Linked DNA regions of Homo sapiens: regions 1, 2 and 4 are each linked to region 3. The links are contacts of gene promoters, found by promoter capture Hi-C in human tissues and cell types (Jung and others, 2019). All regions are on one chromosome and are shown on one strand. The core of a region is centred on a gene start or on the middle of the fragment in contact, and the rest is flanking DNA. Distances in the headings are between cores, read along the strand shown. Region 1 has its middle 140 kb from the start of LINC02984. Region 2 overlaps LYPLA1-TCEA1 (LYPLA1-TCEA1 readthrough). Region 3 holds the start of ATP6V1H (ATPase H+ transporting V1 subunit H). Region 4 overlaps LYPLA1-TCEA1 (LYPLA1-TCEA1 readthrough).

What was found. The method cuts DNA at HindIII sites, captures the fragments that hold promoters and counts their contacts. A contact is called where the count stands out against the background at its distance.
Region 1: a fragment that was not itself captured here is called in contact with the fragment with the promoter of ATP6V1H in region 3 in 1 of the 25 tissues and cell types used here (thymus).
Region 2: a fragment that was not itself captured here is called in contact with the fragment with the promoter of ATP6V1H in region 3 in 1 of the 25 tissues and cell types used here (mesenchymal stem cells).
Region 4: a contact is called between a fragment that was not itself captured here and the fragment with the promoter of ATP6V1H in region 3, in 1 of the 25 tissues and cell types used here (mesenchymal stem cells).

What each region holds. Positions count from the first base shown.
Region 1 is chr8:53,657,940-53,661,545 of GRCh38, reverse strand. No RefSeq gene overlaps it. Among named protein-coding and RNA genes, the nearest start is that of LINC02984, 140 kb to the right of the region's middle. RefSeq lists enhancers at 1,292-1,832, 2,141-2,945, 3,396-3,475, 2,946-3,606. The HindIII fragment of the contact is 7,622 bases long and covers 1-3,606 here.
Region 2 is chr8:53,971,881-53,975,039 of GRCh38, reverse strand. The region is part of intron 19 of LYPLA1-TCEA1 (LYPLA1-TCEA1 readthrough); the gene reads left to right. The region is part of intron 8 of TCEA1 (transcription elongation factor A1); the gene reads left to right. It also overlaps the pseudogene LOC100131254. Among named protein-coding and RNA genes, the nearest start is that of TCEA1, 49 kb to the left of the region's middle. The HindIII fragment of the contact is 6,532 bases long and covers 1-3,159 here.
Region 3 is chr8:53,841,592-53,844,679 of GRCh38, reverse strand. It overlaps ATP6V1H (ATPase H+ transporting V1 subunit H), which reads left to right and starts at 1,435. Exons shown (of 14, transcript NM_015941.4): 1 at 1,435-1,646; 2 at 2,955-3,088. The coding sequence starts at 2,990. RefSeq lists enhancers at 1-49, 1,347-1,486 and a silencer at 1,127-1,276. The HindIII fragment of the contact is 6,704 bases long and covers 1-2,145 here.
Region 4 is chr8:54,082,041-54,085,171 of GRCh38, reverse strand. The region is part of intron 2 of LYPLA1-TCEA1 (LYPLA1-TCEA1 readthrough); the gene reads left to right. All of the region lies in intron 2 of LYPLA1 (lysophospholipase 1), which reads left to right. Among named protein-coding and RNA genes, the nearest start is that of LYPLA1, 18 kb to the left of the region's middle. RefSeq lists an enhancer at 1-563. The HindIII fragment of the contact is 7,195 bases long and covers 1-3,131 here.

The DNA.
Region 1 (3,606 bases), core at 706-3,205, 180 kb after region 3:
TCTTTATACACATCTACATTCCGTGAAATTTTACCTGCAAAATATATCTGAGATGTGGCCTCTTTGTGGCCACACCCACCCCTTTCTCCTGCCGGGTTTCTCTCCTGTTCCTCACGCTGGCCGGGAACCTTCTGAATCTGGGCTCCGTGCGGGCCACTCCCTGCCTGTCCTCCCCCAGGAAGCCTTCTCGGCTGAGGAGCATAGACTTTGGGCTGGCGGACCTGGCCCCGGCGCTTTCTTCAAGGCTGAAGAGCTTCCTTCCACGCTGTGGCCCGCGCCTCTCAGGTCTCCCCTGGAGTCAGCTGCCAGGCACCCTGACCTCAGCGCTGGACTCCTCGGAGTCTGCTTCCTCCTCCCAGAGGCCTTCTCTGACCCGCATCTAACTGGTATTCCCTCGTTCTTCTTGTTCACAGCAATGTCTCACACCCTTCCTTCAGTAACTTGATGACTGTTTATGAGGTTTTTATTGTGGCTCTTTGCTTGCCTTGTGGCCTCCCCACGGCAAATCAGAGGAGGCCAGAGTCACTTCCCTGCACCCGGCTCCTCACGCGGTGCCTGGTAAGCAGTAGATGCTCAATGTGTGTGTGAACAATGTGCACGTGGAGTGGACAGTAAACAGGCCCTGGCGAGGCCTTGGTAAGCGTGTTCAACAACATTGGTCTCTGGCAGGTTGGATCAGGACTGATTTTAATTTCCTGTCTATATATTTCTGTATTTTGCAATTTTTCTCAGTGAGAATTAATTAATTTTGAGATCAGAGAAAAGCCTTAAATAAAGAAAGGCCAAGGAAAGAACGGCCACCTCCTGAGGTTTCAGTGAAGGGAGGACGGATTCCAGGATTCTGGGCACGTCGCTTGCAGAACCACAGAAAGGTCCGAATGGAGGTAGTCCTTGCAGGCACATGGGCTCCTGGGTGATAGTGAGTGGAGGCTGAGCTGAGCTCTTTCGGTGCCCCAAGGCCCTTGGGCTCTGGAGAAGAATGGACAAATTCAGCTATGGCATAGCAGGGAGGTTGAGCGACGAAAAGTAAGAGGCACTTTGGGGTTAAATCAGCCTTTTAAAAAAGTAGTCAAGAGGTAGGGAATGAGTTGCTTGATTTCTTCAAGAGTGTACGCAAGGAGGGCCTGGGAGGCAGTGCCAGGGTCTGGTGGGATGCCTCCTGATAAAGGGTGGTGATTTACATTGGAGCCGTGGTTCATACTGCTAAACCCTTTTTGGAGGTTCAGTTTTTCCATCTATAAAATGGTGTTAATAGTGCCTATTTGGCAGCTTTGATAGGAAGATGAAATGAGATCGTGTATTTTAGTTAGGCGCTTATTACAGGTCCTGATGCATAGTCAGTGCTCACTTACTCCAGTAACCAGGAACAAATTCTGTTGGGTCATCTCCCTACAAGAGAGAGGCTTCCCAGGATGAGAAGGCACTCCAAAATTGTGCTGTACAATTCAAGTTAGAATCCAGTTTGGGAGCCATTGCCTTGAAGCACTCACCGGCCTGTAATTGTCCATACTTTCCTCTTGCCCTAAATTTTCAAAAGGAGTGGTTGTTTTCCAAGTTACCTGCCAATATCCGCTTTTTGAATACCCCTCGGCAATTACCATTGCTATGCTAATTTAGGTGAAAAAACACAAAAGAATTCTTTTTAAAATTTCCATTAATGCAAATGGGTTTCTGGAAGTGAATATCATGGCCTTGTTTTGGTCACCGATTTGTGGGTGGACATTGTGAAATGTCATTTCCAATAGCAGGTTTGTTTTATTCTGGAACTTTGACCCCACAAGTGAAGCCTCTGCAATTCCTTTCAGTGAGAGAGACAATGGCATGACACTCTGTGCTCTTGCTTTCTTGCTTTTATGTGCACATCCGGACAAGTTGAAAGCTGAGTGGAAAGCAGCACTTTCTTAAAATTTTCCAAGGTACATTGAAGATAAACATCATTTGAATTGTTAAGTCAATCTTTACAGTAGAGGAAGAAAAATTGTGAGCAGCACAGATAGAAAACTGGGGCAAACCAATGTAAGAAATGGTCTGGCTGAGTCATGTTCCTGTTCCCGTCAGATTTTCCTGTGAAAGACATGAGGACAGACGAAGGCGGAGGTAAAGATGGCAGGTTCTTGGCCGAATCACTTGTTCTGGCTTGAGATTCTTAGCTAATGCTCTACTTCATAAGCAAACAACTCACAGAGACAAATTATGAGTCAGCACATGAAATAATTTCTAACAACAAAATAAAATACAGCCCACCACACCCATCCTCAGTGCTGTAGAGTGTTTATGGGGCATCTCTGGTATCTTTGAGGTTGTCTCATTCACTCCTTTAGTGAGCACAGATGACCACAGGGCAGTGGTGGGGAGGGCTGGGATGTGGACAAGGTGCCACAATAATCAAGGGATTAGGTAAAGCTGGTGTGTGTGTCTTTGCAGGGGAGTGGGCATAGGGGATAACAGAAATCATAAAGCCAGGAAATGGTATCTAAATGGGTCTTTAAAGTGTCAGGGAAACATGTCCAGGAAATTCAGCTTTTGAGGCCAAGAGACTGAGAATTAGGGAGGAGAAAGGGGACACCTGGGGTGGGGCATGGGCCCTGGAGGCTGCTGTGGGATCTGGGTGAGTGGGATGGCTGTGCTCAAAAGGCCAGGATGGGGCCAGCGGTCCTTCCCAGGTCACAGCAGCTGGAATGCAAAACATTCTGCACGCTCAGGACCAGGGTCTTTCTGGGTAGCCAAGGGAGGGAGGCTCAGCTAGATGTGCTTCACTTGCTTTGTGTGAGGGATTCCTCACTGTACCCACTCAGAAACCCTCAGGAGCATGCACAAAATAAGCCCTGAGATCCTGGGCCTCTTCAGACAGCTTAATATCCCTAAAGTCCTGTGACTCACAGCCCTGCAGGTGGCCAGCATTTGCCGAGAGAGGACCATCTTCTTGCCCTCCCCCTCACCTGCATCACCACACTCTGTGGTGCGGTCAGAGGCTGGGCTAGGGAGACAGAGGGCATGGGCACAAGTCCTGGCTCTGCCCCTCGCTCACCAGCTCTGAGGCCTTAGACAAGCAACTTGACCTCTCTGTGCCACTGTTTCTGTTTCCGTAAAATGGTGATAACAAAGAGTACCTAACTGGTAGGCTGTTTTAGGAATGTGTGAGATATGGCCTTAGGATAGAGCTGAGCACATCATAAGTTGTAGATGTTTTAAATACATCCCATCCATTAGTGCCTAATGTCCCCGCCAGTTTTTGGATTGAAGTATAACCAAACAGACAACATCATCAATACCAGCTGGCACTTCCAGCGCAGAAGAAATGTGAGCGTTCTGGGCGGAAAATCTGAGTTTCACCGGGAGATAAATCTATGTTCTTTTTTCATACAGCCCCAGAATCCAGGGCTGTGTTTCCAGCAGCCGTTTTATTCCCTCCCCTTTCTGTGTGTCTCTAGGCCATTTCCAATGGGTAATCTGTCTGGATGATCTGAAAATCTCAGGGGACCGATCCGCCCCTTCCGCCCGTGATAATTTTCTCTAATTGCTTTGTCCTGTTTTGAGTCTGTGCTGCTAAGCAACACGCGCTGAGCGCTTTCTCTTTCTGATTCTTCCTTTACTCTATCCAGCTCG
Region 2 (3,159 bases), core at 231-2,730, 130 kb before region 3:
ACATGATAAACAACAAAAAGTTCTTCCATCTTTTATGGCTAGAAAAATAAATTATTTTAATAGCTATTTAAATCTGCCTCCTGCTCCCAGAGAAATTAATGTATTATATATATATATATTTCAAATTATCCCTAACCTTTAAACAAACAAGCGTAGATACTGCTCTATTTTTACATAGAATTGTAAACAGCCTTTTAAAAAGCTGGAGTAGGCTGGGTGCGGTGGCTCACATCTGGAATCCCAACACTTTGGGAGGCTGAGGCAGGCGGATCACCTGAGGTCAGGAGCTTGAGAACAGCCTGGCCAACATGGTGAAACCCCCATCTCTACTAAAAATACAAAAAATTAGGCAGGCGTGTTGGCGCTTGCCTGTAATCCTAGCTACTTAGGAGGCTGAGGCAGGAGAATTGCTTGAACCCAGGAAGTGGAGGTTGCAGTGAGCTGAGATCATGCCATTGCACTCCAGCCTGGGTGACAAGAATGAAACTCCGTCCCCCCCCCACCCCCACCCCCACTACCCCCCAAAAAAACCAGAAAGCTAGAGTAACTTTCCACTAGTTGGAATTGAACTTCATAAAATATAAACATTTTATAAACCCTACAATTCAGGTAATTTGATTTAATTATGACTAATCTATAGGAATATACAATACAAATTTGTCAGTCATCCACAATTAAGAACAACTATTTATGAAGAAAAATTTTACTATGTTTAGAATGAGATTTTATTCATATTCTTGAAAGGTAGCTTTGTTCCCAATAAATATTTCTCCTACTATTTCTGTATATTTTAGGGGATGTTTTCAATTCAAAAAGAAATAACATCCAGTTATTTGACTTTTTTTTTCTTGCTTGAAACTGCTCTGTTTTGGTTTTTACAGATTTAATAAACATTGACAAGGCAGGATCAGTGGACTTCACCGAAACCCCCACCTCCCTGGTTCAAATGATTCTCCTGCCTCAGCCTCCCGAGTAGCTGGGATTACAGGTGCCAGCCACCATGCCTGGCTAATTTTCTTGTATTTTTAGTAGAGACAGGGTTTCACCATGTTGGCCAGGCTGGTCTCGAACTCCTGACCTCAGGTGATCCACCCATCTTGGCCTCCCAAAGTGCTGGGATTATAGGCGTGAGCCACTGTGCCTGGCCCTCTTTTTTCTTTATTGCCTGAGTAAGTTCTTGTTTTTTCTGTTCTCTTTGCCAGGCTTTCTCCTCAAGGGTTTTTTCCACAGCTTTTGTTTTCTTGAAATTGGGATCTGAGGGATGCACATTGAACAAGTGGGAAGTGTACATTGCTTGAAACCATGCATTGCTAACATTTACCTCAAAGTCATCCTCTAATAATTTCTTTTTTTTCATGAGCTGCTTTTTCTTCTTTTTCTTCTTTTTGCTCAGGTTCTGGTGCTCCACAATCTTGTTGTAATTGAAGTGTTTCTTACTTTCCTCCTCCTCATCCAGTAAGGAAAGCCATTTCAGCCTTTCATCTTTCTATTTTGGTTTCTTCTTCTGGAGATGTGCCATCTTTTGCAGATTTTGTTCACTTTTTTCTTTATACCTATTTTTTTAAACTTCTTTAGCAAAGTACTGGTCATTCATATCAACATCAGAGGGAAGTTAATTTTCACTGGCCTCTTTAGCAAGAGTCTTCTTTTTCTTTTTGTCTTTTTTTCTTTCTTCTTTAAAAATTGTTCCCAAGGGGTCAGTTTATCCTTTCCTTTCAATTTGTTCTTGACCATCTCTTTGCACTTTCTTTAAGACCTGGAACCCACTTCGTTTCCATTTCCATATCATTTTCTTTGTCTTTCTTTTCTTTTTCTTGAATAACCTGCAAAAGTTGCCTATATTTAGTGATTTGTTCTTCATCGTCCTTCTGACTTTTGTTTTCCCATCTTCTTCTACATTGACTTCATCATCACCTTGTAGCTCCTCTTCTATCTCCTCTTCATTTTCGCTAGAGGAAGCTAAGTAGTCTTGAAAATCCATGTCCAAAAGCTCTTCCTTTTAAGCTTCCTGTTGAGTGTTGTAATTCTTTCATGTTCAGTCTCATCCCAAGTGATTTCCACCATTGATGTTCCCATTGCAGCAGATATGATATATATTTAGTTTATATGCTGTTAAATACACCTCTGAGGCTACGTCCTTCGGCTCATCATCAAAAGTAGTATCATCTGGTATAAACCTTAGATCTGTGAAAGAACAACTACTTTCAAATTCCAGGCCACCACAATCCTCATAAATTTTACTGGCTGTTTCAGGAGAATCACAGTCTACTACTGCATAATAGTACTTCAGTCATTTGAGTTGATAACCTCTCAGTTTTTCTCTAGAGGTCCAGTCCTTTTTTGGGGCATCTTCAGGAACACTTAATAGCTCTACTGATCCTCAAACTTGCTCTTCCTTCACCCTCTCCTTTCCAAACTCTGAAGAATATATTTTTACAGGAAATATAACACCTCCTTTAGGTTTAAATCAGTTGAACAGAGTCAGCAAATCTTTTGCCTTTAATCTATCCCAGTCCATGTTGCAAACTGCTAATTAATGTGTAATGTCATCAGCACGAGGAGCAGGTTTATCTGATTCTCTCCATGCATGCCCAAAACTTGATTCTTCTGGAAACAAATCTGCCATATCATCTTCATTTTCAGAACTAGTTTCTATATTTCCTTTACCCCTTGCAAGATTAGGGCTGCTGTCACTTGCATCATCATCCTCACCATTCTCTTCATCCTCCTCTTCATTTTCATCATCACTTCCATTGTCATCATCACCTGAAGCTCTACCAATACTTGTAATTTCATTTTTAGATTCCTCATCACTTCCTGTTTTACTAACACTTTCTAAATCTTCCTTTAGAGCATCTTTGTCAAACATTTTACTGTCTGTTGAGTTTTCATAACCATCACTGCCACTTGCCGTTATGGATGGAACCACTGGTTGCATTTCTCTTCTTGTCTTAGAACACTTGATCTTGGGAGATTTCACATCAGAGGTGCCCGAGTCTAATGTCCTTCATCTTTCTTTGAGAGAAGAGTTGATAGTATGTTGAATAATGTTTTTTTTCTCTTTTGTACTTTTTTGTGTAAATTTTTTGCTCTCCTTCTTTGGACTTATGTTGGGAGCTATCTTAGATTTACATGGTTTTCATTTTTTTAATTCTCTCA
Region 3 (3,088 bases), core at 186-2,685:
TGTTCCATAACTTTGTGCCTCTAGGAAAAGAGGAGAGCCTCCCGAAATCTGATGAGACTCGCTGTATCACGCCAGTCTGTGGCTTAGGTGATACAGAAAGGAAATGCGAAGATCAGGCCTCACTGCCAGCTTTGCTCAGTTACACAGAAAACATGCTGTTTCAGCTTTTGGGAGTTTCTTAGTACACGATCGGTTTCTTTTTCTCTTTTATGAAAGTTTTTCCCCTTAGATTTGCTTTCAAAACAACAGACTTTCACTTCTGGCTAAGACAGAATGAGTGACCTAGTACAATCTTTGACACTGTTATTATATATCTTTATTCATAATCAATGCATGATTTTGATTATTCTGACTTTAATTTTACGAGTAAAAATGGGTTGGTTATAAATCCCTTTCAAAGAATTTTTTTTTTTTCTTTTTGAGACGGAGTTTTGCTTTTTCTGCCCAGGCTGGAGTACAATGGTGCGGTCTTGGCTCACTGCAACCTCTGCCTCCTGGGTTCAAGTGATTTTCCTACCTCAGCCTCCCAAGCAGCTGGGATTACAGGCATGCGCCACCACACCCAGCTAATTTTTTGTATTTTTAGTAGAGATGGGGTTTCACCATGTTGGTCAGCTGGTCTCGAACTCCAGACCTCAGGTGATCCACTGGCCTCGGCCTCCCAAAGTGCTGGGATTACAGGAGTGAGCCACCGCGCCCGGCCCCTTTCATTGCTTTTTAAGGAAAACATGCTATCATATATACTTCACCTCCAGGGCAGTACATTCTTACTTTAAGGCAAAGACAGTTGCTGAGGCCTGGACTAGGGGAAAATTTGGGCTCCAGATGGGACTGTTGGATAAAATACCAGACGTCCTGTAAATGTGAATTTTAGATAAACAACGAATAACTTTTTAGTATAAAAGTAAATACTGCAATGGAATTTATTATTTGCTAAATGTGCAACCCTAGGTTAAGAGAGCTTTTCAGACCCACTTCTCAGCCCGAGTTTTCTATTTAAAATCAGAATAAGAACGCCTGCTTCATGGAGCTGTTAAATCCAAATGGAAATTAATTTGAAAGCGCGAAATCAAACTTTTCAAAAGAATGACGGTTACAATAAGAGCGTTTTGGCCTCTGCTAGCTGCTTCCGGGCGGAGGTCCTCGGCCTCCCCTAGGCGAGGCACTAGGTCTGGGGGCGGCGGGTCTTAGCGTGCCCGCCACGCTCGCCGCCTCCCACCTGCCCTGGCTGGCTGGGGCCCGACCCTTGCGTCGCTCCGGGGCCCAAGTTACGGACTCGGGAATCCAGTTGTCCGCACCGAACAAGCCCCGCCGCAGCGCCCGCCCCTCCTCTTGCTGCTTTGGAGTCTCCCGGCTTCCGCCTTCCGCAGCAGTCACGTGCCTCCGATCACGTGACCGGCGCCTCTGTCATTCTACTGCGGCCGCCCTGGCTTCCTTCTACCTGTGCGGCCCTCAACGTCTCCTTGGTGCGGGACCCGCTTCACTTTCGGCTCCCGGAGTCTCCCTCCACTGCTCAGACCTCTGGACCTGACAGGAGACGCCTACTTGGCTCTGACGCGGCGCCCCAGCCCGGCTGTGTCCCCGGCGCCCCGGACCACCCTCCCTGCCGGCTTTGGGTGCGTTGTGGGGTCCCGAGGATTCGCGAGGTAAGGCCGCCCTCGCGTTGTTTGGTCTCAGGCTGCAGACCAGGTCAGGCGACTCTTGCAGTTTCTCCAGCTTGCCTGGTGCGTGCTGGTGTCTCGCCGCTTGGTCCTCTCCTGTTCTTCGGCCCCCGGTTGCCAGATTGCTTTTCTTCCAGGCCTCAACCAGGTTTATTAAGCGAAATTCTGGAGCCTTTCTCGCAGGGGGAAGAAACGTCAGGGGCGGGCAGGAGAGTGGAGGGGGAGGGGTAAAAAGTATACCTTCTCCAGGACTGGGCCACGGCCCTGGATCGCTGGGGGTGCGAGTAGTTCAGGGACTTAGGTAATTGTCTAGAGACACCTTGAGCTACGCCAGGACGGGCCGCTGAGGCTGAGCCTCCTTGGCTGCAGAGTTCCAGCCTGGCCCAGTTGAAGCCTGTTTTTTCCTGGGCCCTGTCGTTCGCGCTGCCCAGGGTTGTTTATACAGCAAATCTTCAGATACAGAGATTAAGTTCCAAATTGATTAAGATCGTTGGAAACCCGGAATATAATTTTGGGTAGGATTTTAACTTCTTTGTGGCCATGGCCGTGAATTTATGTTTTGCAAGTGGCAACCTGTATTTTGCTTTGTGTTAAAATCAGTCGTTTGTATCTGGAAGTTTAGGAGTGAGAATTACATAGAATTTCATTATTGTAGGTTCTTGTCGTCCAGCCAGACCGCCATTGTTGGCTTACCTAAATTGTAATATGTATTTGTTCTAAAACTTTCTCTCCGAATTTTGATTTTGCAAATACTATGAATTTTGTTTGAAAAGGAAAGCACTGTCTTCTAAGAAATTATGTTCCCACTTTGTGTATTTTAATTTGAGTAATTTTCGAAAGGACTTAGAATTTTTAATGTGCCACTTCAAAATGATGCTTAGTAAATGTTTATAAAACTAGCCTTATCCGTACTATTCATATTCTTATTGTTTCTCTATGAGAAAAGTTAACCACAATTGTATAAATTTACAATTTTTCCCATATTTATACCTATTCTATTTAATCATGATTTCTGATTTCAGTATATTAGGTGATTGCTTTAAAAATCTTACTGCAGTGTTAGTGCCAATAATGAAAAAAATTTTTCTAGAAAAGCAAAAGCCTAAAGAACTCTTTTATGGAGCAGTGGACAATATTTGAAATATAATGATACTTTCAGACTTAGGACATTTAATATTTGAGTTGAATGCCTGGGGAGATTAAAGTGATCACGATATTCATAATCATAATATTAATAGTTGTAAAAAAAAGAAACACCTCGTATTCTGTTTTTACCTTGCATCAAAATTGAAGATTTGTTGAAAGACATTCAAGATTACGAAGTTTAGATGACCAAAATGGATATCCGAGGTGCTGTGGATGCTGCTGTCCCCACCAATATTATTGCTGCCAAGGCTGCAGAAGTTCGTGCAAACAAAGTCAACTGG
Region 4 (3,131 bases), core at 159-2,658, 240 kb before region 3:
AACCAAAAAATACAAAAACCAGTCAGGCGTGGCAGTGCGCGCCTTCGGCAGGCTGAGGCAGGAGAATCAGGCAGGGAGGTTGCAGTGAGCCGAGATGGCGGCAGTACAGTCCAGCCTCGTCTCGGCATCAGAGGGAGACTGTGCAAAGAGGGAGAGGGAGAGGGAGAGGAAGAGGAGGGAGAGGAGGGAGAGGGAGAGGGAGAGGAGGATTCTTTAAACATTGGATTGGTAGACTTCACCTTGAAGCCATGTGGTACTGGGCTTTTCTCTGTGAGACTTTGGATTACTGATTCAATTCCTTGTTACAGGCCTGTATAGATTTTGTTTCTTGAATCCGTTTTTGGTAGTTTGTGTCATTCTAGGAATTTGTCTATTTAGTCTAGGTTATCTAATTTATTACCATGTAATTGTTCATACTGTTCTCTTATAATCTTTTCTATGTGTCAAGTTAGTAGTAGTCTGTTCTTTGTTTCCTGATTGTAATAATTTGAGTCTTCTCTGTTTTTTTTCTTTGGTTGATCTAGCTAAAGGTTTGCCATTTTTGTTGATCTTTTCAAAGAACCAACTTTTGCTTTAGTTGATAGTCTCTCTCTTTTTTTTTGAGATGGACTCTCGTTCTTTCTCCCAGGCTGGAGTGCAGTGGCTCAATCTCAACTCACTGCTACCTCCGCCTCCCAGGTTCAAGCAATTCTCTTGTCTCAGCCTCCTGAGTAGCTGGGACTACAGGCACGTGCCACCACACCCAGCTAGTTTTTGTATTTTGGGTAGAGATGGGGTTTCACCATGTTAGCCAGGCTGGTCTCTAACTCCTGACATCAAGCGATCCACCCGCCTCAGCTTCCCAAAGTGCTGGGAATACAGGCGTGAGCCACCGCGCCGGCCTCTGTTGCATTTATTTCCACTCTAGTTTTTATTATTTTCTTCTTTCTGTTTACTGTGGATAAAGTTTTTTGGTTTTGGTTTTTTTTCAGGTAAAAGATTAGGTTGTTAATTTGAGGTCTTTATTTTATATATATATATATATATATATTTATTTATTTTTTTTTTCTTTGGTCTCCCAGGCTGGAGTGCAGTGGCGTGATCTCAACTCACTGCAACCTCTGCTTCCGAGGTTCAAGTGATTCCTCTGCCTCAGCCTCCCAAGTAGCTGGGATTACAGGCATTCACTGCCACACCGGGCTAGTTTTTGTATTTTTAGTAGAAACAGGGTTTCACCACATTGGCCAGGCTAGTCTTGAACTCCTGACCTCAGGTGATCTGCCCACCTCAGCATCCCAAAGTGCTGGGATTACAGGCGTGAGCCACCGTGCCCGGCCTGAGATCTTTATTTTTAAACACAGATGTCTACAGCTATACATTTCCATTTGAGCATTGCCTTTGCTGCATCCTATGCATTTTCGCTGCTGCGTGTTTTTACTTTTTCTAAATGGTTAGGAAAAAACTTAAGACTTAGTGACACATGAAAAGTATATGAAACTCAGATTTTATTGTACATAAATAAGGTTTTGTTGGAACAGAACCACATCCTTTTGTTTACATGTTGTCTATAGTTAATTTTCATCCTAGAGTGGCTGAGTTGAGTAGTTGCAACAGAGACCTTCTGGCTGGTAAAGCCTAAAATGTTGACTCTTTTGGTCCTTTGCAGAAAACAATTATTGACCCCTGTTGTTTAATATTTCTTGATATACAGATGTTTTACATCATGATAAATTCATCATAAAATCAAAAAATCATAAATTTAGCCATTATAAGTTGGGAACTGTTTGTATATTCATACTATGAAAAATTGAGCTTTTCATTGTTATTTTTAGCTTGCATGAGAGTTAGAGCTGTATTTGCTTAGAGTAATATTCCTAAGATGATAATATTCATCATTTGATTTTTCTGTGGGTTCTTATGGGCTACCTGTTAACATTCAAATATAGAGCACAGCAGTCATTTCTTCACCATGTGGTCTTAACCTACTTTATCTGAGGTGTCTTCAATTTCTGTCTCTGATTTTTAAGTATTCTTCTAGACTAATTTAACAGTATATGTGCAAAGGCCTAATTTTTTAAAAGATTTTTGTGACATTAATGTTTTAAAGAATTTTTTCTAAGGAAAAAATGATGTCTGCGAACATTCATTTTATAAGACTGTACAATGAGACCGGGTGCGGTGGCTCATGTCTGTGATCCCAGCACTTTGGGAAGCCGAGGCGGGCGGATCACGAGGTCAGGAGATCGAGACCATCCTGGCTAACATGGGGAAACCCCGTCTCTACTAAAAATACAAAAAATTAGCCAGGCGTAGTGGCGGGTACCTGTAGTCCCAGCTACTTGGGAGGCTGAGGCGGGAGAATGGCGTGAACCTGGGAGGCGGGGCTTGCAGTGAGCCGAGATCGCGCCACTGCACTCTAGCCTGGGCAAGAGAGCGAGACTCCGTCTCAGAAAAAGAAAGAAAGACTGTACCATGAGAAATCTGTGTGAAAAAAATTGAAATGCCAAAATGTTTACAAAGAAGAATATTTGATAAGTTAGAATTCCAGCAATTTAAGTGGAAAAAGTGTATCCTGGGCAGGTGCAATGGCTCACACCTTTAATTCAAACACTTTGGAAAGCCAAGGCAGGAGGATCACTTGAGGCCAGGAGTTTGATACCAGCCTGGGCAACATAGTGAGATCCTGTCTCTACCAAAAAAAAAGTACATTCTAAAACTGTAGATACAATATAGTCTCATAACAAATAGGAGCTAAGCTGTTAATGATTGTTTCTTTTTTTAAAAAAAGGATTAGTTCTTGATCGCACCAGTCCAAATGCTTTTCATTTTCTACTTTTGTCTTTTCTCCCCTAATTGTAATAAGGAATAAAACATACTATGGTGCGTATGTATGTGCGTGTGCGTTGTGGGGAAAACCTGTCCTCTGTCTTACTGCTCCTGCTGTATAAATTCTTTTTGATTTTCATAGCTGAAACTAATCTTTTCCTTCTCTTCCACATTTTGACATTCTTTGTAACTTGTTTGTAGGGCTTAACTTTTGATCTGTGTGGTGGTATGTTTATATCTTGTTTCTCCTACGGGACTGCAGTTTCGTTGAGGATACAGTCTGTATCTCAATCTTTATCTTTCATGCATGTAGAATGTTTGTTTTT